Regions from separate parts of the Homo sapiens genome. Here region 1 is linked to region 2. The links are contacts of gene promoters, found by promoter capture Hi-C in human tissues and cell types (Jung and others, 2019). All regions are on one chromosome and are shown on one strand. The core of a region is centred on a gene start or on the middle of the fragment in contact, and the rest is flanking DNA. Distances in the headings are between cores, read along the strand shown.

What was found. Contacts are between HindIII fragments. The study calls those that stand out against the background at their distance.
Region 1: a fragment that was not itself captured here is called in contact with the fragment with the promoter of PLEKHA5 in region 2 in 2 of the 25 tissues and cell types used here (H1 embryonic stem cells and IMR-90 fibroblasts).

What each region holds. Positions count from the first base shown.
Region 1 is chr12:18,884,548-18,890,408 of GRCh38, reverse strand. No RefSeq gene overlaps it. Among named protein-coding and RNA genes, the nearest start is that of CAPZA3, 150 kb to the right of the region's middle. The HindIII fragment of the contact is 5,934 bases long and covers 1-4,829 here.
Region 2 is chr12:19,125,121-19,131,623 of GRCh38, reverse strand. It overlaps PLEKHA5 (pleckstrin homology domain containing A5), which reads right to left and starts at 1,891. Exons shown (of 32, transcript NM_001256470.2): 1 at 1,736-1,891; 2 at 1,494-1,573. The coding sequence starts at 1,824. The HindIII fragment of the contact is 10,456 bases long and covers 1-6,052 here.

The DNA of each region.
Region 1 (5,861 bases), core at 613-3,112, 240 kb after region 2:
GCTTGTTGGGGTTTGGGAGGTGAGGGGAGGGAACTTTAGAGGACGAGTCAATAGGTGCAGCAAACCACCATGGCCCATGTATACCTATGTAACAAACCTACACGTTCTGCACATGTATCCCAGAACTTAAAAAAAAAATACAAAAAAAGTAAAAGTGGAAAATAAAAATCACCAATGACCTAATGTCTGAGACAACAACTATTAACATTTTGCTAGTTTTAAAAAACTCAGCATTTGATTATAAACATAAAACATGTTTGATATTTTTGTTCTTAGCTACCCAGAAACAAATATAAGTTGATATTTATAAAATTAAAAAAACTTATAAAAATATAAAAGATACTTATAAAATTTTTTAAAGTTGTGAAAATATCAGTTCATTTTATTACCTTAAAATATACATTTTTGCTCTCCTGAGTTATAGTAAGAAGTCTAGCTTCTAGCTTGATTTGTAGAGGTTTTACTTTTTATTATTTGCCATTATATCTAGAAGCAAAGTTGCCAATTATGATCCTTGAGGGTTATTTATATCATTTGAAATATTTTAAAGCCTTCTGAATCAGTTGTTTAGCTCAGGCTAGAACATATGCTCTAGTTAGAATTAGGGGCATAGTAATCATTCCCTCAAATTTTTAGTGAAGTTTAAGTGTTAGAGAAACATTCCAGATTGACTGATGATGTTATCTTAGAAGACATCATAAACACTGATAAGTACACAGAAAACCTGTCTACTTCGACCACACTCAGAAATAATAGGCAACAACTATAAAACTCTAAACCCATAGAAGGAAAGCATATCAGGAAAATATACTCAGCAAACAACAGAGATTGAAAATAGTACATTATATAAAAATTGTGCTATAGTGTAGCATAATTGCATATACATTGGTAATAGTGTAGACTGTAGATTACAGCAGCATCATGCAAATGAAGGGAAATGCTGTGTACAGCTAGAAATAAAGCCTTGGTTATGAAGAGTACACAGACTGTATAATACATTGGCAATGGGCAACAGAGATTCTTCTCGATTTCATAATTTTATGAAATGATGAATGACTACATGTGTGATATTGAATATTGAACATTTATGTTTGGAGACATATACACTGAAGGTGGTTTAGAAAAAAATAACAAATACTAATACTGCCAGGAAAGTTAGGCATCAAGATGTAAGTACAAATTCACTTCGGTTCATATATACATGTTTACAGCATTTTGCCATTTAAGTGAATGTCATGGAGTTCAACCTCAGAGTATAAGACAAGGTGACTCAAAATCCAGACCATGCTGATACTATAAAATGTGTCTACACAATCGTATTTGTTGAATACCCCTGTCTTTGTTTGTGCTGCTATAACACAGTACCTGAGACTGGGTAATTTACAAAGAACAGAAAATTATTTCTGACAGTCCTGGAGGCTGGAAGCTCTAGAACAAGGCACAGGCATTTGGTGTCTGGTCAGGGTTGCATCCTCCAGCAGGGAAGAATGCTGTATTTTCACATGGAAAAAGCTGGGAGGGTGAGAAAGGAAGAACTCCTTTTGCCAAGTCCTCTTACAAGGGCGTTCAATCTCGCCCACAAGCGATGAGCCCACATAGCCCAGTCGCCTGTCAAAAATCCTGCCTCCCAACATTACCGCATTGGCAACACCTGAAATTTAAAGGGGGATACATTCAAATCACCTCATTCTGCCTGACCCCTCCCCCGCAAATTCATGTTTTCTCAGAAATTCACTCACTCTCTCATTCAACACACATTTATGAATTAGTTTAGTCAACAAACATGAATGAATGAATGAAGACAGTGGACTATAGATTGCAGCAGAGCCATGCAGATGAAGGCAAATGCTGTGTATAGCTAGAAATAAAGCTTTGGTTATGAAGAATACAGATCTTTTCAAAAATTATTCAAAAATTGTACATGGGAATTTTTTAAAGCATCTGGATAAATTAATATAAAACATAATACAGAGGGCAATTGTGTATAGGGAAATGGGAAGGATGTTTTGACAAGCTTTAATTATATCCCAGCCCAAAGACAAAGGTCTTATCTAGAAGCAGGTTACAAGAAGAGCAGAGGCAGAGAGCAGGGGATTATTATTCAACCCTACTGTGATTCACCCTTCATTTGGATTCAGATTGGCTTGGCCTCTACTCTTAGCCCAGCTGTGTCTCCACCCACCGGGGAAAGAGTGGAGTCAAGGCAATTATCCTGCTAATTTATCTAAAAATGGCAAAATTGAAGAAATAGTTTTCTCAGCTCTCTCTGAATTATCCAGGCAGGGGGTCCAGCATGATTACGCTTCTGAGGGAATCTTTTCCTCCCTTTCATTTTGCAACTGTGTACACAGGCTCTTTCTCCCATCTCTGCAGAGGAAGTTTGCCTTCTGTTAAATATTTTGAATCCTGTGTCTTTATAATTTGGCCATGAGGTGACTATATGTATCTGAGAAGTTCCACGTCTAAGACACACACACACACACACACACACACACTCACAAAATGGAGATCCATTCCTATAATAATTCTCTATATTTCCCAAGTGCCAGTTCAAGAGCAAAGGCTTGTAACTGCGTGGACCAAGATTTGCTGGAGGTTTACTTTAAAGGCTTACTCTAAGCTTGTTTTTCTAAGCAGATTCTATGCTCTTTGATGGGAAGGACCATGCCATTTATTTCTAATAGCAGCCTCCGTAATACTTAAAATGGTGCTAGTCACATAGCTGTTTTTCAAGAAAGTACTTTTGAAATTAAAATCTCAGTGTAGTGTTTATTTAATGTGGTGTTAAATCTTCTAAGCAGAGTGTTGCCGAGTTCCTGGCATGTGTGACACTGACGTAGGGATGGAGACATGCTTTTTTTTTTCTTTTTTCTTTTTCTATAGCCTCATACTAGAGGTGAGGTGACATGGTTTATAGGGGCTACCTGGCATATCTTAATCTGTTCATGCTGTGGTGAGGACAGCGGAGGCAGAGCCCAGCTAAGACATGGGAGCTCTGTGGATGGCTATAAGAATTCAGTAATTCTTCAAACTGCCATTCTTTGAATATTCCTTCAATATTTATTTTAAGAAACTACTGAATAAAGTATGAAAGAAGGATAAAGAAAGAGAACCAGTTGTGGTAGTTCTCAGGTTTTCTATAATAATCACCAGAAAGTCGCTTTTGGCCTGAAACTTGAAGTTTCCTGTTAACAAAACACACACACACACACACACACACACACGCACCCTGTGGTCAGTCAGATGTAGCTTCCTTAGAAGGAAGGCAGTGTCAGCAAGGTCCTGAGGGTGCCTGTATCAGTCTGTTCTCACACTGCTATGAAGAAATATCCAAGACTGGGTAATTTATAAAGAAAAGAGGTTTAATTGACTCACAGTTCCGCACAGCTTGGGAGGCCTCAGGAACCTTACAATCATGATGGAAGGGGAAGCAACACATCTTTCTTCACGTAGTGGCAGGAGAGAAAATAAAGAGGATGAGCGAAGGGACAAGCCCTTTATAAAACCATCAAATCTTGTGAGAACTCACCCACTATCACTGAGAACAGCATGGAAGTAATCATCCCCATGATTCAATTACCTCCCACCGGCCCCCTCCCACTACACTTGAGGATTATGGGAACTCCAATTCAAGATGAGATTTGGGTGGGGACACAGCCTAACCATGTCAGTGTCCAATCTCCCCTAACCTGTGCCCCCATCTTTAGAGGAGTTTATTCCTTCCATCTATAAGCAGTTTTCTCTGAGAAGAGTTCAAGTAAAGATAACTTTCTTTGTCTCATTCTTGTCCAGTGAAACACAGTGACGTTTTAAAAATAATCACTAAGTACAGTTGCCCAGCCACCACGCAGTCTGGCTCAGGGAAGAGTTTGTGATGTAAAAAGTTGGGATAAATCATTTAGCTTTGGGACATGTCTGACCCATGGGCTGCAGTACAAGTGAAATATCCTGGACTCAGTCTAAAGTCTCCCCTAACCTTTGGAGATGACTTTTCAAAGAGGTTCAACATAGACATGAAAAATAGGAACTGCTTGGATTGTAGTTATTATTTTTCCTGTTTCCTGGGCTCTGTCTGGTAAGACTGACTTACTAAAGAGTTTGTGTTCTTGCCCATGCTCCACAATGAATGTGGCTGGGGAGGCTGCTGCAGGTGTACAATGTTCTAGAGCTTCTGGAGGTTAAGCTCTCAGCAACATCTAATTGGAAGCCACCAACAAGAGGGACACAGAGATAGCTACACTTAACTTTCTTTATAAAAATTTACATTGTTAATCCTTGATCATAGTTTTCAGTATTAAAATGTATTGATCTGAATCTACATTAGCATCCTCTGGGATTTAAAAGCAATTACATTTAAAAGTGAAATTGCGGTCAACACATAAACAGGAATGATCTTTAAAGCAAATTAAGCAAAAGGCTCTAATTACAAATCCATTTAATTTACAGACAGAGAATTAACCTTTAGTTCACTGGTAAATATGCAGAGAAACAATAATCCACAATTTAACAACATGAACATAGTATTTCTCATACGCTTTGGGGTTGATGTTTGATCAGTTTCTATATCACTTCACCTTTTGAATTTTGAAACGTTTAAGAAGAAATTAGTGTGTGGAGAGGAGAATCTGTTCTAAGATGGATTCTGCTCACTCTCTCTCATTTATTATGTCTGGAGATTATTATCTCACAGGGAGATTAATGCTATAAAAACTGAATTTTACAAAAAGGTGTTTTTTTTTTCCACATTGCTTTTATTTTTGCTAAGTGCCCTCATCATGTAGAGTAGTCTGGAATTTACAATGGTTTAACCTGGAGCCTCCACCAATCTCACCCACTCCAGTTGAAAAACTGCCTTGAGTTTGCAAATCTCCAAAGTAAATTCACACCAATCATTTTGCTACACTCAACATGATAGTTAAATAAAAATTCCCTCTTTTAGGAGCAATTTACAGAAAACAGGCTCATCAAATGATAGTGTTGAGACTTGGCTATGAGAATTCAAGGTACTATAAAATTTGGCTTACCTATTTTACTAATGTCATTCCCTTTATTCCTAAACTAAATATTATACTGTAGTTAGAATAAACTGAATAAACAGAAATTAACTATAACTCATGACCCCTTTCATTAGCTAATAACTCATTTTTTGATCAAGGTTCCATCTCAACACTATCACAATGGCAATTAAATTTCAACAGGAGTTTTGGAGGGGACAGTCAAGCTATAGCAATAATAGAGTTTTGGATTCCTAGGAATTCATGTTGGTTCAGAGCTATTGAACAGAATTTGCTTAAAAAAATTGGCTAATTTCTTTCTCTAATGCACAATTAATCTGGTTAATAGGTAAATGGTTGCCAGTCTCTTTAGAAAAGTATTAGAGGAAGATTTACACTGTATGTTTTAAAAGAGTAGAAGGATTGTCTTAAAGAAGACCTGGTCTTTTCTCCATGTAAGGGGCTCAGGGACTGGTAACAAGCTAACATCTGGAAACTGGTTGAAGAGCCCCAACTCTGTATGAAAGTGATTCAAGACAGACTTCTCCTTACCAGAGCAAGACAAATCAAATTAAACTTTAGGAGTCTGCCCATCTATTTCAGTCCTCGTGACAGAACAATCAATTAGCCAACACCAAATAACTTTGTAGTTGAAAATGCCCTGATTACTTAGCTTTTCTGCCCACTACAGTAACTATAAGCCCCTGGCTGGAGATCAAGTGCTGCTACTTGTTTCCCATCATCTGGGGTCCCATCATCTCCACTCAATTCAGGAGCCCAGTTAAATGAAGCATCTGCTCCTGTCATTTCCATCCTTTAGAGGACAGCCACCACACAGTATTTCTGGGATGCTTTGCACCTTCAGCA
Region 2 (6,503 bases), core at 642-3,141:
ATCTGTGGGGTTAACTAGGACACTTATTTATATCACTCATAATTCCATAGGATAATTAGTCTAAATAATTTAAATGTCATATCGTCTTTCATGAAATAAATCTATCATTATCCATAAAAGCAAAGAGGCCATCAAAGTTGGAATATGCGTGTAAAACACCAGAAAGGTATATTGAAGCAAAAGCCTGCACCGGGGAATTGAGAAACATGATAGTGTATTAGTCAGAAATGCCTTAAAAATGTAAGCTCATCATGCTTGCTACACCAGCCTTTCCTTTCTTCCTCCACCTTTTTGCAAATTTGGAGACATTAGTCACTTCAGTGAACTCCAGCATTTCACAGAGAGGCAGGTTTGTTCAATATCCTGGCAACTTTAACAGATTCACGGAATGTCAGAGTCCGAGAGAATGTACCCCAGAGGCCAGCTCTGAGGACTGCTGAAACTGGCCTCGCCTTCGACCCAAACTGCTCTCAAGCCTTTCCAATCACCAGGACTAGAGGCAGGCCAGTAAGAGAACACATGTTACATTTCAAAGACAAACAAGTCACGAATGTAAACAAAGAATGATAAAAGAAACCCAGACCAGTACAGAAACTACGAGGAGCCTTTTCCAGCTCCACTCACACTTAGCATTCAAACAAGCTCCCAAAGCCACCCGAGAGAGCCGCTTCCCCACGGACTCCCTCCAAACAGGGCCCGGGTGCCCCCATACGGGACACCCCCTCGCACGCCCACCGCCTCCTGGCAGTCTGTGCAACCTCCGTGCGGCTGGCGGGGACTTTAGATCCGGATCGCCAGCAACTGAGGCTGCGAACGCCTCCTCCGGCTCCGGCTGCTCCTCCCGTGGCAGGAGGGAACGCGCCAAGCGTTTCCCGAGCCGTTCCCTGTCACAGAGAGGATCGCAGCACCCCCGAACTCCTCTCCTCCTCCTCCTCCTCCTTCATCAGCCACCTACCCACAAGTCCCACCTAGGAGGAGGAAGCTGCACGGCAGGAGGCAGCGCTCCTGGGAGGAGGGGGAGGATGTGGTTACGTTATCCCGGCGGGCGATCGGGGTCCGGGGCTGCAGGGAGGGGAGTGGGTAAGGACTGCCTGAAGATTGCTGGGGGGCAAGACGGCAGCTGGGGGTCACCGGGGAGTGAGTAGCGGCCGCGGAGGAAAAACTCAGGACTCCAGGTTTCAGGGAGGGGAGCGTCGCCACTCTAGGGTCGCGAGGGTCGTCTAGGCTGGGATGGGGGGAGAAGGCGCAGGAAGAGGGCGCCGTCTCCAAGTGCTGATGAAAGGCTGAGGAGAAAGAGGCGCCCCGAGACTGGAGAGAACTCCCGGCGGCGGAGTCCCCGTGGCCCCTCTACCTGCGGCCGCTCCCGCCCGGCCTCCGCCCCGCCTCGCCGCCTCCCGGGGCCCGCGGCGCGGGGCAGGTTGCGGGGAGCCGGGCGGCCCGGGCTCTGCCGCCTCCTCCAGGCGGAGCCCAACTCCGTTTGGGCCCGGCGTTACCTGTGCTCTGCCGCCGGTGTCCGGTGACCACCGCCTCGCCGGTGACGGGGTGCAGCCAGGTGGTGCTCTTGGCCTCCTCGCTGCAGGGGTGAGAGAAGGGGCAGACACGGAGCGTGAGAGGGGACGCGGGGGCGAGCCGAGGGGCTGCAGGAGCACAGACCCGGGCTCTCCCCCGTGTCGCCAGCCGCCCGCCTCCTGCCCTCCCGCCCCCGCGGGCCCCCGTGCCGTCCCCGGCTCTTTACTTGATGAAGAAGACTCGGCCGCCCCTGGTGATCCCGTAAGTCCAGGACCGGGGCAGGGAGATCCACTCCAGGTTCAGATCCGCCGCCATGTCTGATCCCTAGCCGCCGCCGCCGCCTTCTCCTGCTGCCGCCGCGGCTGCCGAGGGAGGAGGGAACGAGCGAGCGAAGGGAGCGCGGAGCGAGCGCGCCTCCCCGGCCCGGCGCGCCCCCGCGCGCGCCCTACCCCCTCGGGCGGTGCCCGCCCCGCCGCCCCGGCAGGGTCCGGCCCCCGTCGCCGCCCCTCCGCATCCCGGCGGCCGCCGGCCGGCCGCCCCGCCGCGCGCTCGGGGGATGGGCAAGCGGCGCCGCGCCCCAGACCCCTCCCTCGGGCCCCTGCGGCGCGCCCGCCCCCTCCGCCGCGCGAAGGTTCCGGGATCGATTAAAAAAAAAAAAAAAAAAAAAAAAAAACGCGTCCTGCCCCCAGGGCTTTGCCCGAAGGCTTCCCATCCCAGGGCGCGATCAAAGGGAGCCTAATAATGCCCAAGCCCCTGATTTCTCTCTTTCAAACAACAAAAACACAGCGTCTGAGCTTTGTTTTATAAGAGCTGTTGGAGAGCCAACAGATTTTTCCAATATATTTATCGTTTTAAAATGGAAAGCTGTTTTTATTAAAGCACACGAAAGGCCTTTCCTGTTTGTTTGTTGTGTGCCAGATATCAAAGGTTGGACGTGATACGTGGCCCCATGAAATATGAGTGGATTTAGACTTGACAAAACAAGTTTTTTCTCTTCCTAGGCCCCTTAGGTCATATCTTATAAAATAAAAACTCGTCTTTTTCTGGTACTTGTTTTTAAAGATTCACTTAACATCAGTGTGGATTTTTACTTGCCCTGTCTCCAATAGATTACAATAATAGCTTATTTTATGGAGTCCTTGTGACGGTGTACATTTTTAAATCTTCACAACAACTATATATATATGTGTGTATATATATATATGTGTGTGTGTGTGTGTATATATACACACACACACACAATCTATAAAAAATCCCCATTTTACAGATAGGAAAAATGAAGTTTAAAAACACAGTAGTTTGCCCAGTCATAGTAATAACTGCCAAAGCCTGGATTCAAACTGGCTGTAGGATTTCAAAAGTATATTTGTATAACCTCCTTGCTGTACAAGCCCACTTTGTTTTACTGCGATTCACTTTATTGCTGTTTGCAGATCTTTCACATCTTACAAATTGAAGGTTTGTGGCAACTCTGCATTAAGCAAGTCCTAGCACCGTTTTTCAACAGCATTTGCTCACTACATGTCTCTGTGGCACATTTTGGTAATTCTTGCAATCTTTCAAACTTTTTCATTATTGTACCTGTTATAGTGATCTGTAATCAGTGATCTTTGATGTTACTGTTGAAATTGTTTTGAGGGCACCATGAACTGAGCCCATGTAAGACAGGGACTTAATAAATGTGTGTGTTCTGACTGCTCCACCAACCAGCTGTTCCTCTGTCTCTCTGCTTCATCTTGGGCCTCCATATTCCCTGAAATGAAACACTAATAATTGTCTAATAATAATGGCCTAATATTGAAATTAGGCCAACCAGTAACCCTACAATGCCCTTTAAGTGACCAAGTGAAAGGAAGAGTTGCATGTCCCTTACTTTAAATGAAAAGCTAGAAACGATTAAGCTCAGATGTATCAACAGCCAAGAGAGGCCAAAAGCTCGGCCTTGTGTCAAATAATTAGACAAGTTGGGAATGCAAAGGAAATGTTCTTGAAGGAAATTGAAAATGCTACTCTGGTGAAAACATGAATTATAAGAAAACAAAACAGCCTCATTGCAGATAGGGAGAAAATTTTAGTGGTCTGGGGAGAAGATCAACCTAGCTACAACATTCCCTTTAGCCAAAGCCTAATCCAGAGCAAGGCTCTAACTCTCTTCAATCTTATGAAGGTTGAGAGAGCTGAGGAAGCTGCAGAAGAAAAGGTTGAAGCTATCAGGGATTTAAGGAAAAACACCATCTCCGTAACATAATAGTGCAAGATGAAGCAGCAAATGATGTAGAAGCTGCAGCAAGTTATCCAGAAAATCTAGTCAAGATCATTGAAGGTGGATACACTAAACATATTTTCAATGTAGACAAAACAGCCTACTATTGAAAGAAGATGCCATCTAGGACTTTCACTGCTAGAGAGGAAAAGTCAATGCCTGGCTTCAAAGCTTCAAAGGGCAGGCTGACTTTTTTGTTAGGAGATAATGCAGCTGGTGATTTTAGGTTGAAGCCAATTCTCATTGACCATTCCAAAAATTCTAAGACCCTTAAAAATTATGCTAAATATACTCTTCCTGTGCTCTATAAATGGAACAACAAAGCCTAGATGACAGCACATCTGTCATGGCTGACTGAACATTTTAAGTCTGCTGTTGAGACCTACTGCTCAAAAAAAAAAAAAAAAAAAGAAAAGAAAAAGTGATTCCTTTCAAAATATTTCTGTTCATTGACAGTGTACCTGTTTACCCAAGAGTTCTCCTGGAGACATACAAGAGATTAGTGTTGTTTTCATGTTGGCTAACCCAACATGCATTCCACAGTTCATGGATCAAGGAGTCATTGTGACTTTCAAGTCTTATTATGTAGAAAGTACATTTCATAAGGCTATAGCTGCCAGAGATAGGGGGTCCTTGGATGGATCTGGAAAAAGTAAATTGAAAAAATTCATAATTCTAGATGCCATCAAGGACATTTGTGACTTAAGGAAGGAAGCCAAAAGATCAACATTATCAAGAGTTTGGAAGAAGTTGATTCCAACCCTCATGGATGAGTTTGAGGGGTTCAAGACTTCAGTGGAGGCAGTAACTAGAAATATGGAAATAGCAAGAGAACTAGAATTAGAGATAGAGCCTGAAGATGGGGCTGAAATGCCACAATCTCATGGTAAAATTTGAAGGGATGAGGAGTTGCTTCTTATGGATGAGCAAAGAAAGTGATTTCTTGAGAGGGAATCTATTCCTGGTGAAGATACTGTAAATATTGTTGAAATGACAACAAATAGTTTAGAATATAATATAAACTTAGTTGATAAAGTAGTGGCAGGGTTTGAAAGGATAGATTCCAATTTTGAAAGAAATTATACTGTGTGTAAAATGCTGTCAAACAGTATCACATGCTACAGAGAAATCCTTCATGGAAGGAAGGGTCAATCGATGCAGCAAACTTCTCTATTGTCTTTAAGAAACTGCAACAACTGCTCTTACCTGCATCAACACTAGCCTGACTGGTCAGCAGCCTTCAACAACATTGAGGCAAGATCCACCAGCGAAAAGATTAAGACTTGCTGGAGACTCAGATGATCCATTAGCATTTTTTAACCATTAAAGTTTTTTTTTTGTTGTTGTTGTTGTTTTTGAGATGGAGTCTCACTTGGTTGCCCAGGCTGGAGTGCAGTGGCACAATTTCAGCTCACTGCAACCTCCATCTCCCAGGCTCAAGCAATTTTCCTGTCTCAGCCTGCCTAGTAGCTGGGACTACAGGTGCGCATCACCATGCCCAGCTAATTTTTGTATTTTTATTAGAGACAGGGTTTCACCATGTTGGCCAGACTGATCTGGAACTCCTGACCTCAGGTGATCCACCTGCCTTGGCCTCTCAAAGTGCTAGGATTACAGGCGTGAGCCACCGCGCCTGGCTAAAGTATTTTTTAAATTAAGGCATGTACGTTTTTTAGCCATAATGCTATTGCACACTTAATGGATTACAGTATAATAAATATAACTAATATATGCACTAGGAACCAAAAAAATGGTGTGACTCACTTTATTGCTATGTTCACTTTATTGTGCTGGTCTAGAAATGAACCAGCAGTGTCTCCTAGGTATGCCTGTAGTTAAAAAATAAGTCTTGTTGGCTGGGCGCGGTGGCTCACGCCTGTAATCCCAGCACTTTGGGAGGCCGAGGCGGGCGGATCACGAGGTCAGGAGATTGAGACCATACTGGCTAACATGGTGAAACCCCGTCTCCACTAAAAATACAAAAAATTCTCCGGGCATGGTGGCGGGCGCCTGTAGCCCCAGCTACTCCGGAAGCTGAAGCAGGAGAATGGCATGAACCCGGGAGGCGGAGCTTGCAGTGAGAGGAGATCGCACCACTGCACTCCAGCCTGGGCGACAGAGCTAGACTCCGTCTCAAAAAAAAAAAAAAAGAAAAAAGAAAAGAGAGTCTTGTCTCCCTTCCTCCTGCTTTTGTTCGTTGAACAAGGGCAGATTTCACTGCGACTGGGATCTTCTCCCTTAATGCCATCTAAGAGTAAACTGCCTCTTCTCATTGTCTCTGGTCTTTTACCACACTTGGAATCGCTTATGCATCTTTGCAGCAAGATGACTCATTCCAACAGGATGCACAGTACAGTAATAATAGTACTACTTAGTATTCTTATAGCACCTAATTTTGTGACCAGTTTTGGGTGTTTCTGGAGCATGATCTCATTCATCTTCTCAGTAACTTAAAATGGTAAATAATGTTTTTCAACAGTTAAGGAAACTAAGGCACAGAAAGGGTAAATGACCTCGGACAAAGCCATATCCAGCAAGTCAGTTGGGGCCTGGATGAGAATGTAGTTTCACTGAACTTTTTCTCCCATACTCTGATTCCCCAAGGCCATTCTGTCTTCAGTGAAAAGGAGTCTGCAATTACTGCTCTAATTTTCCTGTCCATCTGCATACACAAGGGGGAAAAAATAACATCATTTTAATGTTTTCTCTTTTGGTTCCTTTGCATTCTCCT